Regions from separate parts of the Homo sapiens genome. Here regions 1 and 3 are each linked to region 2. The links are contacts of gene promoters, found by promoter capture Hi-C in blood cells and fetal thymus (Javierre and others, 2016). All regions are on one chromosome and are shown on one strand. Each heading gives the region's core, a stretch centred on a gene start or on the middle of the fragment in contact. The rest is flanking DNA. Distances are from core to core; before and after follow the strand shown. Region 1 overlaps CACNG2 (calcium voltage-gated channel auxiliary subunit gamma 2). Region 2 holds the start of CACNG2 (calcium voltage-gated channel auxiliary subunit gamma 2). Region 3 overlaps CACNG2 (calcium voltage-gated channel auxiliary subunit gamma 2).

Evidence for each region. Contacts are between HindIII fragments. The CHiCAGO score rates a contact against its expected background, and 5 or more counts as called.
Region 1: a fragment that was not itself captured here is called in contact with the fragment with the promoter of CACNG2 in region 2 in 2 of 17 cell types (M1 macrophages and endothelial precursors); the score reaches 6.9 in M1 macrophages.
Region 3: a fragment that was not itself captured here is called in contact with the fragment with the promoter of CACNG2 in region 2 in 1 of 17 cell types (endothelial precursors); the score reaches 5.2 in endothelial precursors.

The regions. Positions count from the first base shown.
Region 1 is chr22:36,613,381-36,616,488 of GRCh38, reverse strand. The region is part of intron 1 of CACNG2 (calcium voltage-gated channel auxiliary subunit gamma 2); the gene reads left to right. Among named protein-coding and RNA genes, the nearest start is that of EIF3D, 86 kb to the right of the region's middle. The HindIII fragment of the contact is 159 bases long and covers 1,593-1,751 here.
Region 2 is chr22:36,702,423-36,705,701 of GRCh38, reverse strand. It overlaps CACNG2 (calcium voltage-gated channel auxiliary subunit gamma 2), which reads left to right and starts at 1,950. Exons shown (of 4, transcript NM_006078.5): 1 at 1,950-3,279. The coding sequence starts at 3,126. CACNG2-DT (CACNG2 divergent transcript) reads right to left here and starts at 1,826. Exons shown (of 4, transcript NR_134623.1): 1 at 1,710-1,826. The HindIII fragment of the contact is 12,752 bases long and covers 376-3,279 here.
Region 3 is chr22:36,587,084-36,590,686 of GRCh38, reverse strand. It overlaps CACNG2 (calcium voltage-gated channel auxiliary subunit gamma 2), which reads left to right. Exons shown (of 4, transcript NM_006078.5): 2 at 3,139-3,222. Among named protein-coding and RNA genes, the nearest start is that of EIF3D, 60 kb to the right of the region's middle. The HindIII fragment of the contact is 1,849 bases long and covers 1,044-2,892 here.

The DNA.
Region 1 (3,108 bases), core at 423-2,922, 89 kb after region 2:
AATGGGAACAATTGGAGACAGGAAAATCCGGTGAATCGTAAGGCGCTAGACTATGGCGTGCAGCCTTACCAAGATAAATCCCAGTAGTGAAAGACAGGTATTTAATATGTCTTATCTAAAATGCAGCTGCATGAAAAATGCATCAGAAATTCAAGGATAGAATTCTAACAAGGGAGAATTTTAATAATAATTCAATATTAAAATAACTCAACAATAATAAGTAACATTTACAGAGTTCTTAGTATGTATCAGGCACTTCTCTAAGCATCACACCAAATTAACTCATTTGACCTTCACACAACACTAGGAGGATTATTCTTTTCTTATCTCCATATCACAGATGAGGACACCAGGGCAACAAGAGGTTAAGTAATTCAAGGACATTGTCACTCAAGGGACACGAGATCTGGAGTCAGATGACATAAGTTTCTGAGTTGAGGGTCTTTGGGGCAAATGATTTTACTTTTCTGAGCTCTGGATTTGAAAAATAGGAGAGATAAACACTCCATCTACCACGTGTGTGGTTGAATAATATTATGTGAGGAATAAATAAGAGAATGTTTGAACATAGACACACTTTCATACCTTGACATGCAGTACATCTGTGAGTTCTTTCTTTTTTTAACTAACACAATTTTTTTAACTAACACTATTTTTTTTAACTAACACTATTGTGACATTATTTCTTTGGAAAGCAGAAAGCTAAATCAGACTGTTCCACAAATATTTACTGAGCACCTGCTACATGCCAGTCATGGGTCTATACTCTGGTGCTGCAACAGTGAGCAGAGCAAAGCCCCGCCCTCGTGGATCGTCCATTCTAATGGGACTAACAGTAAACATAAAAATAAATAAAAATGTGATAGTGGTAAGATGAATGCAGGGTACGTGATAAGAAGAAAATTAACCCAGCTGGGGGAACAGAGAATGATGGTCATATCATTTTTGTCCTGAATAAGTGAGGAGCCCATCATGCGGATGCAAAACAAGAGCATTCTAGACAGGGGAGCCATGGTGCAAGAGGCCCAGAGGGGAAGTCTGCTTGTTGTATGGAAAGAGAAATCAGGAATCCAGTGTGGCTGAGCAGTCAGATTGTGGAAAGCGGCAGTTGAGCGTAGCAGTCATCACAGACTAAACCAAGAAGGGCCCTGCAGGTGTGGTACCCATGAGATACAGGAAATCCAACCACTGGGCAGTAGTTTGTGCAGTTTGTTCACTAGTCTTATCTGTGAGATTCCTGCCAATCACTACAAACCTTGTACACACACTTGCCCTCCCAACCAAATCAGATGCAGCCTTATAGGCTGTAGTGGACATATGGCTGCGAATACCTTCATTCAATTCATTTATTCTCCAGACATTTACTGGGCACCTGGTGCAAGCCAAAGCCCTGGATGGGCAGTGGAGGTACATTGTGAACAAAATACACATAGTCCGTTCTCCAAGAGCAGACCTCTGCTAGAGAGGGAGATAGGAAGTAAACTGCATCACAGTGACAGAGGCCCTTGTCATCTGGCACCGCTCAAGAGATGAGGCAAGGACAAGGGAAGCTTGGAAAGGCGAAATGCATTCTTCCCCCAGACTCCGAAGCTTCTTTCTCCATGTGCAGTAAGTCCACGGACATAAGCCATTATGTCAGTACTGCCAATTCCAGATCTCAGCTAGTAACGAGCAAATGGATCGTTGCAAACCACAGAAAATCCCCAAACCTCCTTTGAGTCAATAGGTGTGTTCTCTTCCCTCCACAAGCTTTTCAGTAACTACGCTAAGCCCAGCAAAATTGATTATGGCATCACAGGCCTCACCACTTGCTGCTCCCACCACCCTGCCTGCTCTCTGTGGATGTGCTGACCCGGGGCTGGATGGTGCTTGGGTGCATCGGAAACATGAGAGGGTGGACAGGCTGCCTCTGCCTCTGCCTCAGGATACAATGATGAATGCAGCAGCTCTTCAAGGGGCTTTCACACCAGTGGAGGAGACAGGCAAGGAAGCAGGCCACAGGCCTTTCAATGTAGTCCAGGAATGTCGCCATACCAAAGAGTGCGGGGTGCCATGGGAACCAGAAGGAGCTGCCGGCTCAGGATTTGGGGTGATGTGGGGGAAGGGACAGTCTTCAAGGAAGCCTTCCTCAAGGAAATGATGTGTAAACTGAGCACTAAGGCATCAATAGGGAGTATCCAGGGGTGGGCAGAGAGGAGAAGTGATAGAGAAGTGAGTTGGGAAGGACAGCCAGGAAGCACGTGGCAAACGTCCAGAGATAGGAGAGAGCGTGGTGGGTCCTGGGACTTACAACAGGATGTAGTTTCTGAAGATCAAAGCAGCTGTCGAATTGTGGTGGACCCTGTTGACCTTGTCAAAGAGTTTGGACGTCATCCTGTAGGAATGGGGAGGCACTGAGGAGAGGCAGCTCCGATTTCACCTTTTGTAAATCACAGTGACTACAGAGTGGAAGTAATCAGTGGTAGGGAAGAGGGAAGCAGGGGAGCCACTTGGGGGTTGGAGGGTGTTCTGAGAGTGCAGGGAACGGTTGGTAGGGGTCCAGATTCAAGACATGTTAAAGAATTGGCGATTTGCTGGGAGTGGAGATGAAGAGGTAGAAATCAAGGATGACTCCAAGGTTTGCAGCTTGGGAAATGGGCTGGAGGAAGGCATGATTTATTATTGAGCCAGCATAAGAGGATGGGGGAAATGGACACTAAGTTCAGGTTGAGGTTCAGATATCTGTGGGATATTCACGGGGGGACAGCCAGCGCACCAAGAACTCAAGGGAAAGAAGACAGGACTGGGTTGTATATAAAGACTTGTGGGTCATCAGTATGTAAGTGAAAACGGAAGCCAGAGATGAGATTTCTGAGGAACATATGTAGAATGAAAAGAGAAGACAGCCAAAGAGAGAGCCCCAGAAACACCAAATGTACAAGATAATCAGAGGAAGAGGACCTTGCAAAGGAGTCTGAAAATGAACAGGAAGAAAACCAAGCAACCTTGAGGACCCAGACGCCAAGGGAAGACGGCACATCAAGAAAGAAGCCAGGTGGTCAGATTACTCAAATCATGTCAACGGTGCATAGCAAAAGCTGTAGGGGCATGTGTAGATGCTGACTGTAG
Region 2 (3,279 bases), core at 701-3,200:
TAGTCTCTGCACTGTCCATGCTGGCAGCCTAAAAGCTGTTGCTTTCCTCCCCCACCCCTTTCCCTTTTCTCAATGATCATCTGGCCAGAAGATTAATCAAATGCTGCTAAAGCTGCAGCCGTTGTCAGTGGCTAAGATGTTAGCAGATTCTGTGGACAAACAGAAGCTTCTGAGCCTCTGTTACTGATTTCTTTTGAGCAAAACCTTCAGGGGTTGGTCTGAAAGGGGGAGAGAGATGAGAAGAATGGCTCTATCTGCAGTCTAAAGGGATTTTTGGACAGGTCAAAGACAACCAAGGTGACAGCAATAAGTGAGGGCAAGGCTCTTTGGCTCATGTGACTACCCCCAACCTTCTCTCCACTCCCCCCAAAAGCTTAGCCTATCTCAGAGGAGGACTTGTTGCCTGCCCCTCACCTTTGCTTCAAGGACAGAAGAAAATCAGCCACCTGAGCCACTGGCTGAACTTGCTAGGTTCCCTGCTGTATGGGATCAGCAGATTAGCCCTCTCCATTCCTGTACCCATCCCCATCTTCACAGGACAAGAAACCAAAGTGGAGAAGTCTTCAGCCTGCAAATATAGCTCTTGCTGTACCCCAAAGGTACCTTAGCAGAGGTTGAGGAAATCTTGGTTCTGTTCTCCAGACACCAGGACCCTCTCCCAGATACCAGAAGCACAGCAATTGCCCCTCATGGGAGCCTTTCCCTTCTAAGAAAAGAACAGAGTGGGAGAAAGGAAGTTTTGTGCTGGGCGAAGAAACAGGTAGTTTTTCTATGTCAAAAAAAATACACTGGTCATACCTGCAGACCAACTCTGACCTGAGCGAAGGAAGTTAGGCAATGGACTTTACACCAAAGAAAGACTGTTTTTAATTCACTCATCTTTTATATACCTCTGATAATCACCAGACCACTGAGAAAGATGTCAAGCAAATAATCTCAAGAAAAAAAGTAGAGGGAGAGAGAAGAAAGTACTGAATAATTGAATTATGGGATTGAAACCTCTCAACTCCCCCTGCCTCAATAGACTCATCATACTCACATCCTCTCCAGGGTCCCCCCCGCAACACACACACACACAAAATATCAAAAACATGAACCCATCTCATGCCTCATGTGCTCTTACTCACTTAACCATAAAAGTGATCAGAGAAAAAAATGTAATCCGTAGCAGCAGGAATTAATGTGCTTCTTTCTACCAGAGGTCACGTTAAGGAAAAGTTGCACATAAGAGAAATGAAAGGTGACACTGTAATTAACCCACAAACAATGATTCTTCTGAGAAAGAGGGGAGGGTTTCGGTGTTCCAGTGTTCATGGAAGGAAGATTTTTTATCTCTTCCCAACCAGTTTATGAATGACATAGGATACTTAGAAGGATTCACATTTCACCCACTTCCCCTGAGAACATGTTTATCCTTGCAATGAAAATCATTGCCCAAGCCCCAGCTACGAGTCGCCCTTTTGCACCCTTTTCCACGAATAATCTTCCCAAAATGTCTGCTTGTAGAAGCAAGATTTGGAATTTCACGGAAAACTACAGAGAGACACAGAGCAATGCACACCCCCTGGTAAGCCAGAGAGAGACAAAGAGAAGAGAGAGGAAAACCGAAAGAAGATACATCTAACGGACCAACAAAATAAAACAAATCCCCAGCAAAGCAAAGTGAAAACAATGATTTAAAAAACACATAAAGACGTGTTTGTAATTACCCGTCCAGGTTACATGTTCGCCGCTTCCAGGCAGAGAAACGGCTGGTTGAAGTTTTGTGCCCGTCTGACTGTGATGGGAGGGTTGTATTTGAAGCTCTGGGCACGTAGAGATGGAATGAGAAGGAGGCTGAGCTGGAAGAAACACCAAGGGGGGAGGGAAGGGGGGAGAGAGAGAGAGAGAGAGAGAGAGAAAGAGAGAGAGAGAGAGAGAGAGAGAGAGAGAGAGAGAGAGCGCGAGCTATCTCTAGCTACGCCTTCCTCTAAGCTCCGGGAGCCCAGGAGAGCGCTCATTTTAGGATTTGGGAGAGGGGTAAAAAGAGGAAAGGCGGCCCCCGCTCTGCGCTGGCCTTGCTGCCCCGGGGAGGGAGGACTCTGGCCAGCGCCCCCCTCCTGGCGGGCGGCCCTGGGAGCCAGCCGGGGAGCGCGCGGAGCGGGCGGCGCAGGGAGCTGTCCGGTTCAGCACCACCCGTAATGCAGTAGGTGGGAGCGCCTCCGCGGGCGCCCAGCCGGTAGCGAGTGGGGGGCAGGCGCGCGGCCCACCCTGCAGCAAGACGCCGGCTCCCTCGTTTCCAGGAGCTTTGCAGATAGGGGGAGGGAAATCCGCCTCGATTCTCCAGGAGAAACCCCCTCTCTCCCCCACTTCGCCAACACTACCCCCGCCACCAACAACAATAACCGCCGCCGCTGCTCGTCCTGCTGCCGCCGCCGCCGCCGCGCCTGCCCGCCCTGCCGCCGCCGCCGCCGCCGCCGCCGCTGCCCGGGCAAAACCATGGAAAGCGAGACCCCCGCACCTGTGCAGCTGAGCTCAAGGGCTTACAGAATACTGGGAAGTCTGGTCTGAAACGAAAGCGCCGAGACCCCCCAAGGAAGAGAACTGGCGAAGCAAAGGATTTTCATGGCGCAGGCCGCAGAGCCGAGAACGAAGACCGAAGGTTGCATCTCGGCTCTCACAGTCTCTAACTGTCTAGGTCCCGACCATGAGAAATGGTGTTGAGAATTCGGCTGTTCCCTGGTTCACTGTGGAAGCCATCTCCAAATTAACTATCACATATGGAAACTGGAGACCAGAATTTTAGAAAAAGAGATTAAGGCATCTCACTTGGGGGGGTGGGGGGTGTCTTTTTATTTTTTTTTTCCTTTTCTTTTTAAAAAAAAAACACTGCAACTGGAACAGTTTCTGATCTCAAAAGGCAAGCCTCTTCCCGTGTGATCTTTATAATTTACACTCTTTTCCGTGAGCTTTCTTACCTCCCTTTTTTTATAACTCTCCATATTCTCTATTCATACATATATCCATTATATTAGTAGTGGAATAATTTTTATTTTTATTTATTTTTTTTGGCTTTAGTACTTGCACCCTCACACACACTCTCCCGAGAACCAGAAGTCGGTTGGGTGTTTATATAATGAAGAATTATGGGGCTGTTTGATCGAGGTGTTCAAATGCTTTTAACCACCGTTGGTGCTTTCGCTGCCTTCAGCCTGATGACCATAGCTGTGGGAACCGACTATTGGCTCTACTCCAGAGGGGTTTGCAAGACCAAAAGTGTCAGTGAGAATGAAACCAGCA
Region 3 (3,603 bases), core at 719-3,218, 120 kb after region 2:
TGTCATAGCTCTGTAGAGAAGGATAAGAGTGGGTGCAAACTGATGAGTGGGGAGGCCGCGGCAGCCATCCAGGGAGCAGGGATGGTGGCCTGGTAGTGGGCGGTGCTGTCTCAGAGACATCAGGCAAGTTTGAGACACTAAGGATCTAATACAGACAGGACGCCCTGATGGATGGAGCCTGCAGGGAGGAGGAAGAGATAGATGTCAGCGCTGACAACTAGGCTCAGGCTTACACAAGGGAACCCTGGAGAAGCATTCGCCAAGCTAACTGGGGCCTCCAGAGTGCCAGGCTAGAGGGAAAGATCAGGAGTTCATGTTCAGTGCCTTTAAAACATCCACCAGGAGATGTCAAATAGGCAGCTGGATACCCAGGTCCAGGCCTCAAGGAGAGGTCTGGGCCACTGATTATCTCGCACGGCCTCTCTGTTAGCATCTCCTGAACCCTGCTTCTGTGCCAGGCACTGCGCTAGGAGCCAATGGTCCAAGGATGAGTGAAGCCCAGGCTTGCACACAAGGAGCAACTAGGCTCCCCGTAGAATGTGAGCTCCTGTTCCTGCGGGGAACAGGAGCGGGTGTGGCCCACCAGGATGCAGCTGGGGCCCTGCTGGGTGAAGCTCTGTCCTCAATTTGTGGGACGCCTCAGGGCATGTCAGTACTGCTCTCTGAGCCTCACTCCTGCACAGATTCTTTATAAAGATGCCTGGCACCGGCTTGCTGAAATATTTGTCAGATTGAATTGAAAGAAAATGAGAGTGCTTTGCGAAGTGCTTTTCAAATACACTGATTTGTAATTTTAACAATAGGGAGAATTTGTTATCCTCTTAGCAGCTGGTATGAAGACTTTTCCCACAGAGAAGGGTGCATGGTTGGATTAGGAAAACAAGGTACTAGGGAGGGGACAAGGCTTCCTTTTAACACCCCAAGATGCAGGAGGGCAGAGGGGCCATGACACGATGGGGGTGGGGACAGCAAAAAGCAGGGAACCCAAAACACTCAGAGAAGACACCTGTCCATGGGACCATTTTGAGTGGCCCTACCAAGCTTCAGTGAAGCGACCAGAAGTCCCGATATGGTCTGGGGAATTGTTTTTCTTGTAGAACTCAAGAAAGTTAGTGAATTTGGTACAGGGATAGCTCATGTGTGAAAGGGAGTTACAGAGATTCCTCTTTTCCATTATATGCAGCATATAATCATAGCCAGAAGTTCCTAAAATGCTTATATTCCTACGTAGTACGTAAGTATCCCTGTATACTATATACCTGTGTACTATTAGGTTGATGCAAAAGTAATTACGGTTTCACTATTACTTTTGATGGCAAAAACCACAGTTGCTTTTGCACCAACCTAATATATAGGTCTATTTTATACACACACACACATATATATATATATGTCTAGGCTGGGCACAGTGGATTATGCCTGTAATCCCAGCACTTTGGGAGGCCAAGGCAGGCAGATCACTTGAAGTCAGGAGTGGGGGACCAGCCTGGCCAACATGGTGAAACCCCATCTCTACTAAAATACAAAAATTAGCTGGGCATGTTGGTATGTGCCTGTAATCCCAGCTACTCAGGAGGCTGACGCAGGAGAATCACTTGAACTTGGGAGTTGGAGGTTGCCGTGAGCCGAGATCACACCACTGCACTCAAGCCTGGGTGACAGAGTGAGACTCCATTTCAGGGGGAAAAAAAAAAAAAAAAGGTATATGTAATAATACCGTAAAATTCCTAATTAATATCTATGACACATACTAGAATCTGCCCCTATTTTATAAGACATAGTCTCAGGACTGTAGAAGAAAATCATTGCCAACATGTATTGAGGGCTGTATTAATTAGGTCACAGTAGCTACTATGTTGGTGGCTGGACACAGTCAAATTTCATTTCTGTCTCACGTCAATGCCCCCAAGGACTTCCTAAATGTGTCAGGCACTGTTCTGACTACTCAACATGCATCAGCTCAGTGAACCTCCACGACAATCTGCCAGGGAAGAATTCTTGTTATCGCCACTCTCAGGTGAGGACACTGAGTGATGCACAGCTGGACCCAGGCAGTCTGGCTGTGCAACCTGCATCTTACCCACTGTGCATACGCCCCAGCATACACCCAATCTTTCTTCCATTCAGAGAAGGTTAAAGGACATTCACTGTGCCTATGCTGGTGCTGGAGATAAGACAGTGAATGAAACAAAGTCTCTGCTGTCAGGAAGCCGATGCTCTGGTGATTGTAGAGTCTGTGCTACTTATCGGTTTTTAGAAAGGCCACATTCAAGAGTTCACGTGCTCATCAGTGAACACTGGGGAGGACCTGCCTGTGACACTGTGCTGGGATTTGCCCCAGGCCAGTTCTCACCTTCCCAGCAGGCACCGAGGAAACATTTAGAGTCAAAAGATCCTAGTTTCAGCCCTGATTCCGTCATTTCCTAGCCACAAGCACTTGCTCAGATAGTTCAGCCTTTCTGAGCCTCAGTTTCCTCATCTATACAATGAGGATGATAATACCCCCCTCACAGGCCTGTGGTGGAACCAAAATGAGCTGTAGTTCAAAACCCAAAAGTCCAGCCCCCAGGGGGCTCAACTTCCTCCCCACCCCCATATTTATTTCAGAGCAGTTGGCGGCTGGGTTTGGTGAATTCCGTGCGGAATTGCAGATGGGAAAGTGTTTTGCAGGCTCTTCTAAAGGGCTGTGGCAGCATCTGGCAGCACCAGTGCGGGGTGTGTCCCCTTTAGAAAGTGATCTGCTACTTTCTCACATGTAAAATGCAGGATGACTCCCAGCTATGCTGGGGCACAGAGACGGGCTGAGGAGCATTCATCGGCCTCCTGCGTGGCAGTCCCCAGCTCGGAATCAAACCTCCACTGCTGCCAAGCCTCCGCTAATCCTCAGAAGCTTCAGTGCAGGGACAGAAGGCAGCGTTTTGAAGTCGTCGGCTTTAGATCCTCTCTGCAGTACTGCGGGTGTGTGTGTTGTGATTCACCAGGCAGATGTCCAAACGGACAAAGCGAAACCTTCCTTCAGGGGTGAGGGAGAGGGCTGAGTGAGTTTCCAAAGAGCCAGAAGTTGGGAAGAGGCAGGTGGGCCCTAAGCGCCCCCAAAACTATGATGTTTCATGTGCTCCTTCTCCCCTTGTTTTGCAGGGAATTTCAAAGGTCTGTGCAAGCAAATTGATCACTTCCCAGAGGATGCAGATTACGAAGCTGACACAGCAGAATATTTCCTCCGTGAGTGCACACGATTGTTTTTATCTCCCTCCTGGTGGTGGGCCCTGCCCTTCCATCCTTCACAGAGTCAAGGACCAGGCCTACCTAGAGGCCCTCATCACAGCAGAGGGCAGGAAAAAGCTAAGCCTCTCTCCTTTCCGGAGTACAGACCTTCATATGTGCTGTTCCCTCTGCCTGCAATGCCCTTCCCTGCCCGTCTTTGTCTGGCAAACTCCTACTCAGTCGACCTCCAGGTCTCAGCTAAAACATCACCTTCTCCAGGAAGTCCTTCCTGCCTTCTGCATGAGTTCCTAGAGGACGGTACTTTATCATGCTGTAGGGTCCTTGGCTATTTGAGTAACCATCTCCCAACTCTGCTAGGGTATGGACTCACCCTAGCAT